Regions from separate parts of the Homo sapiens genome. Here region 1 is linked to region 2. Evidence: promoter capture Hi-C in 16 types of primary human blood cells and fetal thymus (Javierre and others, 2016). All regions are on one chromosome and are shown on one strand. The core of a region is centred on a gene start or on the middle of the fragment in contact, and the rest is flanking DNA. Distances in the headings are between cores, read along the strand shown. Region 1 has its middle 56 kb from the start of NRAL. Region 2 holds the start of LINC01116 (long intergenic non-protein coding RNA 1116).

Region 1 (6,097 bases), core at 1,277-3,776, 190 kb before region 2:
GTATAATGAAAAATATTAAAGCCAAGTAGAAATGTTTTTCTTATCAAGTTATAAAACTATATGAGACTAAACAAAATCAAATTAAGGCTAAATTAATACATTTTGTGTAGAGAAAATAAATACATGATTAAATGTTTCATGGTATCTTTACCTAAGACCACGATGCAGGAGAACCTTGACCCAATTGTAGCAATGTGTGAGCCACCAGAGAGCCTCACTCTAGCACTCTTCCAAGAGGGAGGAGTTTGGTGGGCTATGGGCCTGTCTTGCCCTCCAAGGAGTGCTTTATCGCTAATGTACCAAATGCGCTAATTATAGTGCCGTTTTCTCTTTAAGGCAGTTCTTGAGCACAACCTCTTGAGAATAGTCTATCTCTGCCACTTGTAAAACTGCTATGAAGTGGGTTTTGAAACATAAACAATTACATGGATAATATATGTGGGAATAGACTATTGTTAAAATAAAAATTATATTTATCTTCAGTGGCATAAAATGGAATGTGTCCTTTGCCCTGGTCACACTTTATCTGTCCCCTCCATTTTATAGGGATTTTTTTTTCTTAAATAAATCTTTCCCAAGCATAATAAAAATCTAATTGATCCTTTCTTTGGGGACGTTCATAACCAGATCTTTGATGAAATGCCCCATAATGGTTCTAAATGAGGTGTATTGAACTGTTTTGTCAATTCATTGCAGGAACAGTGGCATTGCCAATATTAAGCACGAGGTAAACAGATCTTATAAAAAGTACTACAGAAGGAGTATAATGTTTGCCTTTTAAAGCCACTGTTTTATATTTTAGATCTTTTAAATATAGTTTGAGAATGTTCAACACTATTAGATAATGAAACTAAAAATGCCATTCAATGTAAAGCCCCGCTAACAAGGCTTGGCTTTCTGTGAAGGGTATTGCCAGAAGTTCCCTTTTGCTTCTCTACCTTTCACAGCTCCCCAGACAACATTCATCCCTTCATTCATTCACTCAGTCACCCATCCAATCATTCCTTCATTCATTCACTCAGTCACCCATCCAATCATTTCTTCATTCATTCAACTATTGTTTATTAAATGCTCGCCACGAGCCATGAGGGGAACATATTTGAACTCAGCTTTGAATATGTCTTTGTTTCCAAAAAGTGTGTCTCTCAAGGTACACTGCCCATATGTATTTCTTACACTCACTGGTCTCCCCTGTGTTACTGGGAAGACTCTTTAACCCTCATTAAATGAATAAATCCCTGCTGCTGGTCATAGGGAGGACACCATAAATGCAGCTTCTCGAGAAGCAGTTCTATCTTGAACTGATGCTTGCAGTTGAGAGGCCTTCATGAGTTTCAGTTTGGGCTCGCATCTGAAACTCCATTTTGTTTTCTTCCTTGCCATATCTCAGATTAGTAGTTATCAGCACCTCTCCTGTCTCATTTTTACCTGCTCCCCAGGGCCTCCTGTAGTGACTTGCATGTTTGCAAGCCCCATGGCCTGTTTCTTCAAGTTGGGACATCCTAAACACATCCTCAAAATTGATAAAAATCTGTCTAGCTGTTTTGGTATGATGTGGTGACAAAAAAGATAGAAACTTAACTTTAGATGTATGGAACAAAGATAAAGCTTGGTAGTATGCTACAGAGAATTCCTGCAGGTTCAAAATGAGTTCAAGTGTGTGGCAACAAGGCTCTCTCCCTTTTGATGCAGATTCAGGAATTTGGATGCCATGAATTTCAATAGCATCAGCTTTGGTTTCAAGCGCCTGTTTCAGGGCTCCTCCCCGACTTTCCACCATCTGGAATCTGAGTGGTTAATGGGAGAGGCTGTAAATACCGAATCATTTTGTCTTCTCCTTGTCTGTCCCTGCAGTGGGGTTTGTTCACATGAAAGCTACATTCTGCAGGAAAGGCATCATGCACCAAGGAGAAAAATGGCATTTCTTGTCAACTTTGACTTTTTCACACACTTTCTCCAAATTCTACTCTGAGAGACTGTGATAACTTTTTTTGAAAGTCAGAATCTGAAGGAAAAGCTGCTTTCCAACTAGCTACAGGGGCATTTCTTGAGATGTAAAGTTGTGATTACATGTGAAAAAGTCTGACCATACTATGAATTATTAATTAACATTGATGTCCTATCAATCAGACAGTGCATTTATAGTTAGATATAAGTTAGAGCAAGTCAGCCATCCTAATTGGCACTCTGGAGGGAAGGAGACTCAGACAATCCCTGCAGAAACCCCTTCTGCTCTAGGGATATGGCGTCTATTTACCCTCCAGACAGTATTAATTCTTGCAAATATCTGGACAGCTTGTTGTTCCAGTGCCAGCTTTCACAAATTGCAGTATAAAGGAGGACCAGTTATTTATTGTTGGGTAACTAACCACTCAAGAGATAGCGGTGTGAAACAACAACCATTAATTTCTTGATTTTGTAATTTGTGCTGGGTTCATCTCCATGGTTCTTCTGCTTATCTTGCCTCCTGGAGTCACCTATGTGGCAATTGATTGGTGGGTTGCTTGGAGGCTGGCTGGTGGGGACCATCTCATTCATATGTGAGTGAATTGCTGGAACAGCTTGCTGTCTGGGCCTCTCTACTTGGCCTTATCCTCAAGGAAGCTAGCTTGGGCTTTCCTATATGGTGATAGCGGTGTTTCAGAAGAGTGAGAGTGGAAGCTGCAAGATCTCTTAAGGCCTGGGCTTGGAAGCCTCACAACAACACTTCTGTTGGTCAAAGTAAGTCACAAGCGCAGCCCTGATTCAAGGAGTAGGAAAATGGATTCCATCTCTTTAAGAAAAGAGCTGCAAATAATTCATGGCCCTGCTTCATCTACGCAGGTAGGAGGAGTCAGTGTTAGAGCCATTGGCCCCTATAAATGTGGGCTGCTGGGATGTTTCTTTAATGTCAGGTGAAAATTCACTTTGGGAAAGGAGTTGCAAAGTGAGCCCAGGTTATGGTCTTTCTACTGTCAGATCAACCCTTGGCAATAAGCTCCTGCACTCTTGCCAGATGATTTTTCTAAGATTCAACTCTGATTGTATCACTCTCAAGCTCATACCTTAGTGGTTTCCTTTCTCCTGGAGTCTACAATTCTCATTCTTTTTTTGAGAGGAAGTTTCACTCTTGTTGCCCAGGCTGGAGTGCAGTGGCATGATCTCAGCTCACTGCAACCTCCACCTCCTGATTTCAGGTGGTTCTCCTGTCTCAGCCTCCCAAGTAGCTGGGATTACAGGCACCCACCACCATGCCAGGCTATTTTTTTGTTTTTTTAGTAGAGATTGGGTTTCACCATGTTGGCCAGGCTGACCTCAGGTGATCTGCCCACCTTGGCCTCCCAAAGTGCTGGGATTACAGGTGTGAGCCACTGTGACCGGCCTATAATTCTCATTCTTTAGCATGGCCACTCACAGTCTGGCTCTTGTCCACCTTTGAATCATCTCTCATGATTTCCCCATGAGTAAGCTTTGCTTCTTGCAGTATCTATTTGTTCCATGTGCTTGTATGCTTTGGTGCAGTTCCTGATGCCTAGAACCTCCTTTCTAGGTTTGTTAAGGATCAGGTGGCTCGCAAAGCTTTCTGCAAGACAGCCTCAGCTAAGTTAGGCTCCCCTCCCTGCACTCCCCTCTGGTGTCCACAGCATCCTGTGTGTGAAGGCTGGTCTCCTTGACCTCCGCTCCACCAGACTGCAAGTCCCTTGAAGGCAAGAACTATGCCTTATTTCTCTCTGTTGCTCCTAGCCCAGTGTTGGGCATGTAAAGGGAGCTTGAAATATGTCAGCAAACATATGATTATATAGTAAAATCTCTTTGGGATTTATTTCCTACTGTTTTTGATAAAAAGACCCCAACTGTCCTTTGGGCTCCCCAGGATGTACAAATATGGAGACACACCATGGAGCAGTCTCCAGGCTTGTTTGTGGGTCATGAGAGATCCTGGTATTTCTCACCACTTCCAAGGCTCTGCCTGGCCCCTCTTCCCAGCACCAAGGTCTCTGGATTCTTTCTTTTTCTTTCTGTATTTTAGAATTATGCCATCACATAATCCTTATCAGTGAAAAGTTCTTTTTGGGTGTAAAAGAAACCATCAAGAAGTGGCAAAACAAACAAACAAAAAAAAAAGCAATATTAAAATCTTGGCCAGGCACGGTGACTCACGCTTGTAATCTTAGCACTTTGGGAAGCCGAGGCAGGCGGATCATATGAGGTCAGGAGTTCAAGACCAGCCTGGCTAACATGGTGAAACCCCGTCTCTACTGAAAACACAAAAATTAGCTGGGCGTGGTGGCAGGTGCCTGTAATCCCAGCTACTCGGGATGCTGAGGCAGGAGAATCACTTGAACCCGGGAGATGGTGGCTGCAGTGAGCCGAGATCGTACCACTGCACTCCAGCCTGGGTGACAGAGCAAGACTCTTTAAAAAAAAAATCTTATCTTCAAATTGCCTATGGAGTCCACGAGAATCCCAGGAAGATGGCACATAAATACTACTTCCCAGCCATGCATGTGACCACTGGAAAAATGCTACCCTGGACTGATATGGAGTCATTAATCAGGTGTCATGCAGTGGTCCAAAATGGCCCTTACGCATCTATAGTGGACTGAGGAAAATCACTCTCCATCCATGTCAGGCCATGACCACCCTGATCATTCACTGAGGCCACCTGGGCCTTGTCACAGCCACTGGCAGCAAAGGCAGCTCACTGTGCTCTTTCACCATTCAACAGCTGCTCCAGGAGAAGGTGTGGTAAGGAGGAGTCAGGCCAGAGGAAGTGAGAAGGAAATGAGAAGAGGTGATGGCATGGGGGTGAGAGATGGAGCAAGGAGAGGGAAGGAGGGGGTCAGGCCTGCTTTCCCCTTCTGTTGCCCTAAGCATGGCCAATCTGTTTCTCCTCTGTGATTTCTTTATCGTCTGGGCTGTCAAGGGTAGAATTTCCAGTTTTCTCTGGCACATATTATAAAGTATTGGGGACAGAGGAGTATTGAACTTGAAGCTCCATAAACCTTGCAAATTTCAGCCCATAACTGATTTTCTAATAGTGCTGTTAATGTTTTTTCCTTTCAAAACCCTCAATCAATGTTGATTACCAAAGGCTTCTGTGTCTCTCCAAAAATAGCTGAACTTGCTTTTTGGGGGAATGTTTGAATAAATATTTGCTCTTATATGATACTATACACTAAGTCTTTAAATAAAACTGGGTTTAAATGAAACCAAAGGGAAGAATCATAACCTTTTACCCTATGCCAGTCACCGTGCTAAGTTTTTTGTGTGCCTTATTTCATTTATCCTCACTTCACCTCTGTGAGGTAGCATCTACTGGTATTATCTCCTGATGGGGAAATGGATATTAGTGTGATTGAGTTGGTTTAGTAAGGCCACACAGATAGTGATGGAAAGAGCTGGAAATATCCTACTTCTGCATAACCAAGTGCTCCCAACCACTTCCCTAAATGAATATAGGTCAATATATATGTGTACATATATCAGTCCTCCTCACCCAGTACCAATTTTTATTGAACATGTACTATGTGCCAAGGACTAGACTAGATACCTTCCAAAGGTCTTCACATTTCATTAAAATAGCCACTCACTAGCTGAGTTTGTATACAACTATTGCCCCTTCTCTACTAAGAGATAACGTAACATGTTGATTTAATACTTGGACTTTGGTTTCAGACAGGCTGGGTTCAAATCTTGACTTGTTTATGTGCTGTTTATTGCATATTCTGGCAAGTTACTTAATTTCTCTGTGCCTCAATTACCTCTCTGTGACAACACATAAGAGTAGTATCCACGTTATGAGGTTTAAAGGACTTAAAATTTCAAGAATGCCTAGAACAGTGACAGATACCACCTAAGTTCTATAGGAGTTTGATTAATAAGTGAACTGGCTTTTAAAACATGGCTCAGGCTGCAAAGAGAATAGGGTGAATAGTGAACTCTTGCTAGAGAATAACTCCTGCAAGAAAGATATTTAAAAGAAAATGAAAAAAAAACTATCAAATTACAAAATCTATCACAAGTTTAAAATGAGAATATTACCCACATGTGTCTACGGAGCTGTGAAGTGTGAGAGTAATGAGCTAAACTGTCTAAGTTTATTCAAAAAACAAAA
Region 2 (5,986 bases), core at 3,248-5,747:
CTTGAAATATTGAACTGTAAGATTCACATCATAAGGGGCGATAAAGTCATATGCATTCTTAAATAAAAATAATAGCACATTCTTAAAAGGACATTTGTTTGTTTATTACTTAAATGGGTTTCAGCCACTAGCGTACATTTGGCACCAGTTGCTGTGTTTTGCTCTAGCCTGAGACTCTAATGCCTGAGCACTAGTTACTCCGGTTCTAAAAAGCTATGAATTTTGATATATAGCCTACGTTATGAAAGCTTACCTCTTTATGGCTTCAACCAGGTGAGTGTATGGCTCCGGGCTTTTCTTTTCTTTTTTTTTTTTTTTTTTTGAGACGGAGTCTCGCTCTGTCGCCCAGGCTGGAGTGCAGTGGCGGGATCTCGGCTCACTGCAAGCTCCGCCTCCCGGGTTCACGCCATTCTCCTGCCTCAGCCTCCCAAGGAGCTGGGACTACAGGCGCCCGCCACTACGCCCGGCTAATTTTTTGTATTTTTAGTAGAGACGGGGTTTCACCGTTTTAGCCGGGATGGTCTCGATCTCCTGACCTCGTGATCCGCCCGCCTCGGCCTCCCAAAGTGCTGGGATTACAGGCGTGAGCCACCGCGCCCGGCCCGGGCTTTTCTTTTAGGCTCTTTGACCTAGAGAAATGAAGCTTGGAACAGGGGATCTGCAGGCACTAACTTGTAGAGGAGAGTCCCAGAGGTGCAGGTATCATGCATTCAGTGAGCTGGGAAACTCTAGCCCGGGAACATGGAGTCACTAAGTCTTTCAATGTAGGAAAGGAGCCCCAACTGTTAAGGCAGCTAGCCAAGCAGGTGACAAACTGTTGCACTTCAAAGACAGGAAATCCCTTCAAACGTTAAATTGTAAGGACACAAAATGACCTACATTCAGGAAAATGGGGAGTCAGTAATTCCACATCAGGCTTGTTCCAGTTTATTGAAGCATGTCTGGTGGATATTAACTGGTCCTAAGGATCCCACTCTAAGTGAATGGCAGCCTTTTCCACCAGAAACCCACATTTTCAACATCTTATTTTTAAAAAGTCATTCGAGTTCACATCAGATTGAAGTTATTATGTAAGGACTCTCTCTGGGACAGTTTTCAACCCTAAAATTAGTCTAGTTTAAAATTACAATTACTCAGAATGTTTAAGAAATCTATGAACATGTTTAAAAAATCTTCTGAACATCAAAACTAAGAGAAGGCATCAGTCTACAGTGCAGTCTTAGAAAACAACTGATGGATTGCTTAAAATTGGAAAGACAGCCTAGAAGTGCCACAATATCAAGGCATAGGACTTCCTAGTAGTTTTACCCAGCTCAGAAGGCAAAGTCTAGATGGATTTCCTGCCAATCCCCAAAACTACCTAGGGCTGTGGATGCAGCAGTTTGAAACATGTGTCAATGCTAAATACTTGTCCAACTGGCTTGAAATAAAGGGAGGGCTGGGGGTGGGGATGGTTGAAGGGGGCAGAGAAATGGCATATGCTTTTCTCAAGGCAGGGCCTCTGTCCCCCAGCACTCGAAGAATTACTGAACAAATGTGTTAAGTGGGAAGGAAATGGATGGGTAAAAGCTAACTTCATCTCAGCACAAAAGAAGTTGTCCTTCCATGCTTACATTTTCAAAATGCAAAAATCCAAAAAGCATCGATATTGGAAAATTCTTGGGAAACTGAAAAGCTTAACCATATTCCATAATTTTATTAATTTAAGACCTTCCAAGCAGGGAGGTCAAACTTAACTCTGCTTCCAGCTTACAAAGCACGTCAACTTATTTTGTATGTATAGCTATAAACTGTTTGCAAGTTTCCTCAGTCAGGTACTCGGGATGAATTATGAATGGAATTAGCCAGCCTGACTTGGAATTTCCTCACTTTTACTGGTCTTTAAACAAGATTTTTATACATTCATATGTAATCGATGGAACCAACACATGAAATGGCCCTTCACATAAAACACTCTCTTTTAAAGTGATTTTGCAGTTAAGGAAACCTAAATATGAACTTCTGATGTGGAAAAGGTAGTTTTTATATGCTATTTAGAAACTGATCTGAAAAACTGATGAGCTGACCACAAGATTTCTGTCAGAAACTGAAATTAGGATTATATTTTAAAATACAATTGTAAATGCTTGCTTTCTTTTATAAAACCAATCTGCTTCTCATATTCCTAGCCTTAGTCACACTGAAAATACATAAATTTGGTATTTGGTTATTGAGTTTTGAAGTTGCAAGGCAGGATAATTTAGATATTCATAAATACAGAGCATAAGAAAATCCTTCCTGAGTGCAAAACTATCTTTAAAATAATCATCCAAAGGAGTGAATGCCACACCTCCTGATTTAATTTTGGCTATTAGCTATTCATTCCTTAATATACATTCTTCCACATAAAACTTGCACTGTCTTAAAACTTGCCTACAAACTGGCATGTCCAAATTGTGTGCATAAAAAATAAGATGAAGATCGATGCCAAGTTTTCAAGAAAGAAATGAATTTGGATTGTTTATTACACCAACAAGACACATGTTCAAATTTATCCCCTGTATATAAAAAGATTAGTATAAAATATTTCTCAATTGTTTATGCAGAAAGTAGTAGGGAACAAATTCCAATAATTTTTATCACATAGCTGATATAGCTAAATATTTGGAACCTTTAAAAGAAAAGTGCTAATTAAAATACATATAAATTTTTCAAAGTTTAAAAAGCAGTTGGAAAAATACTTCTACCACTTAGAACACAATTACCTGCACAGCTTAATAGTCTTATGGATTTCAGTAGTAAAATATGTTTAGAAACATCTTGTCTTTTCCATTCCCTCAAACACACAGTGGGCTGAGAATATAACTCTTCATAATATATTAAAAAGTATCCACCATCTTGAGAAAACTATATATTATGGTAATAATTTTTACATCTGATTATGCCATTTTTAGACTATGGAATATAGTTTCTGAATTCTTTTGGGGGGAGGGAAATGGTGTGGAAAAACTACTTTTAAAACGTGCTTCTATCTTCATTTAAAATGTATAAATTCTCAAGTTTCTTAACAAAAAACTTTGATCCCACTATTTTATATAGACTGCATTTATAGGCTTGGAAATCCTGTTCTCTCTATTAAACTCCTTAGACAGGATTATATTAATCTTACTTAAAAGAAAAAACTACTTACAGCAAACATGGCACTCAAAAGAATTAAAAATAATACTTGCAATATTTTAATATTTATGAAAATCTGTTTTTTGAAAGACAGATGAACTTAGAAATGTGAACACACAAAAAAATACAAGTATAAAGTTTCCTTTCGAAACTTTTCCTTTCAAAGAAATATTTATCCCACATTTCTACATGCAAAACTTTTAGTGTAAACTATTGAGAAAATCCTAAATAGTAAAACATTTGTTTCTGTAAGTCCATAAGCACTTGCTGTACATACTCAGAGGCAGCCCTGGCCCACTGTATCCGCAAATGCATCTGCAGGGGGAATGGTTCCAAGCCAGTCACTGAGTGTCATCTGTCCCTTCTCCAGGGGCAGGGACATTGAGTCACAATGAAATTTTATTATTTATATACATTATTTTAAATTCTGTTTTTCTTAGAGCTCAAAGCTTTGACAGTAAATGTCAAACCACACTGAAGTTGACTTGTTAGCTTTTGTAGCTAGCCTTACTGCTGTCGGCTATTTCAAATTGCAAATGACAATAAACAGGTGGTTTTTTCTTTTAATCACTAAAGAACATCCCTTTTCATATAGCTAATATAACAAAAAAGTCTAAAACATGGGCATATAATTCCCACTGTAAATTAATTATAATTATTTCAGGCTTAAGTATTAATAGTAAGTGAATTCTTTTCAAGAGATCCTTGGCGGTTCCATTTGCCCTTGAACATTAACCCTGCCACCTCAAAACTCAATGCCTTTGCACTTAGTCTAGAAAATTAAAAATACAACTCGTCCTCATCCTAGTAACCTGCGCAAGTCTCTACAAGAGACTGGAGGATCTACGTGGTAACTAACTTTAACTTACCTCTTCTAGGCTTTATTAACGAGTTTATCAAAAAATATTAACTTTCAGGCAAGATGTGGCTAATTCTTAAATGCAGCTTAAAACTTTCGACATCCCCTTGTAAAAATGATGCCACGAAATGTGCCACTGTCCATTTATTTCCCATTTCACTTAACGCATTAATATTGACCCTTCGGACAGCAGCGCTGGCATCATTTTGGAGCTGCAAAGCAAGACGTGGCGCGTTGATGAGCTAAAAAGGACCCGTCTTTCTCTGGGCCCCTTACCAACATCTCTCTCCCTAGAAGACAAATACTTTTCAGATCTCGCACCCCTCTTTACAAACCTGAGCGGGGCTTTCGGGGTAAGGGGAGGCAAGACTTTGGTGGGAGCTGCTCGTCTTCAGCAAAGCGAGGGCCGGCTGCAAAGGCGCAGGCTGGCAGTTCGGGTCATTTCCTGCCGATTCCCCATTCCCCTCGGAGCAGCTTGGAGAGGAAGTCGGACTTCTTTTCCAGGCGGAGCCTCCACGATGGGCGTGGGCGCCTCGTGCGTGGGCCGGGGGCCTCGTGCGTGGGCGGGGATCGGGGCCTGGGAAAAACGGGAACCCGGTACCCGCCCGCGCCCTCGCGCGTCGGCCAGGAACCTCGGCCCCATGCGGGCGGGCCAGCGCGGCCAGGAGGGCCGGGAAGAGGGGTCCCCGGGGCCCCGGATGCGCTGAACTCCGGGGAGGGGATGGGCAGGAGAGAGAGCACACTCCTGGAGCCGCGACGTCCAAACCCGGACGCACTTGAACCCGCAGCGAGGCCCGTGGCTCGCGGCCTTCGGAGAGCACCCGCGCCCCGCGCAGACCGGACGCCGGCCTTGCCCGATCCTCGGCATCCTTCGGCGGGGCGGCCAGTCCCAGGGCGCTCGCTGAGGGCCACACCCTGGCCCCAGAGTTTAGCACCGCCGCGGGCAGGGCGCTCCGCTCCCGGACCCCGAATCTGAAAGCGGAGACCAAGGGCTGCCTGCGGCAAAGCTCGACATACACTTGATTTTCTTCCGATTTGGAGAAAATGTCACGGGCGAGAGCAAAAAAAAAAAAAAAAAAAAAAAAAAAAACCCTAACTGTAAATATTATTTGGAGGTGGGCGAGGGCGCGGCGTGCGCGCGGCGGCGGGTGGCGGGCGGCGCGGGCGCCCTTGCGGGGATTCCCGGTCTCTCAGCGCGCCCTAGTGGACGCCCTGCCTTTCGCTGGCTCCCCGTGCTCGTTACAATCTGCAATATATTATTTCTTCCGAAGTATTGACAATGTGTGAGACTCCAGTAACCCCGGAGCTCTCGTCTGTAATCAGCACATTTATCCACATTTAAGGGGGAAAATCCGAATTAAATCCCCGTGACCCTGATTGGGTTACAGTGTCATTTTCCCTGGATCCTCTTTTAAATCCACTCCACACTGCTTCTCTGTCTATTACATGCTAATTTAATTTTACTGTGGAAGATATTTTCAGGATTTGCTGAGGACAGTAAATTTTGTAGTTTATGTTATTTCACTTTTTATGACTTTTTAACACTTAATAAAATTTTATTAGAGCACTTTTGTGTTTACAAGGCCACAAAACTCTTGGCAGGTTGTCAGAAGTCCTTTTTATTATGATCCTACTGATATACTGCGAGTAATGAAATAATCATGTCCAGAAATGTATCAAAGGCCAGAGGGATTATCCCACTTAATAGCTCCACAGATGCGCCCAGAAGAATGTGGACGCGCGACAGGACGGGCTGAAAGGCTGCAGGAGGAAGCAGGCAGCCCCGGCTCCTGGCTTTACCATTTCGGTTGCTTTCCTAAAAGGCTACATGCAGGGTCATGTGACTTTCCGCGGTCTCAATAAAAAAAAAAAAAAAAAAAAAAAAAAAGAATTTATTCTATTGCAAAATGTGCTTTTCTTTTTATACTCCTTGTGTGGGCATTTAAGACTGTTCTAGTGGCAGTGGGGTTG

What was found. The method cuts DNA at HindIII sites, captures the fragments that hold promoters and counts their contacts. A CHiCAGO score of 5 or more calls a contact.
Region 1: a fragment that was not itself captured here is called in contact with the fragment with the promoter of LINC01116 in region 2 in 1 of 17 cell types (endothelial precursors); the score reaches 6.3 in endothelial precursors.

The regions. Positions count from the first base shown.
Region 1 is chr2:176,448,354-176,454,450 of GRCh38, forward strand. No RefSeq gene overlaps it. Among named protein-coding and RNA genes, the nearest start is that of NRAL, 56 kb to the right of the region's middle. RefSeq lists an enhancer at 1,395-2,002 and a silencer at 1,568-1,862. The HindIII fragment of the contact is 1,840 bases long and covers 1,607-3,446 here.
Region 2 is chr2:176,633,112-176,639,097 of GRCh38, forward strand. LINC01116 (long intergenic non-protein coding RNA 1116) reads right to left here and starts at 4,498. Exons shown (of 5, transcript NR_188023.1): 1 at 4,351-4,498; 2 at 1-14. LINC01117 (long intergenic non-protein coding RNA 1117) reads left to right here and starts at 4,643. Exons shown (of 4, transcript NR_110599.1): 1 at 4,643-4,897. RefSeq lists a silencer at 5,108-5,157 and an enhancer at 5,318-5,832. The HindIII fragment of the contact is 4,643 bases long and covers 3,604-5,986 here.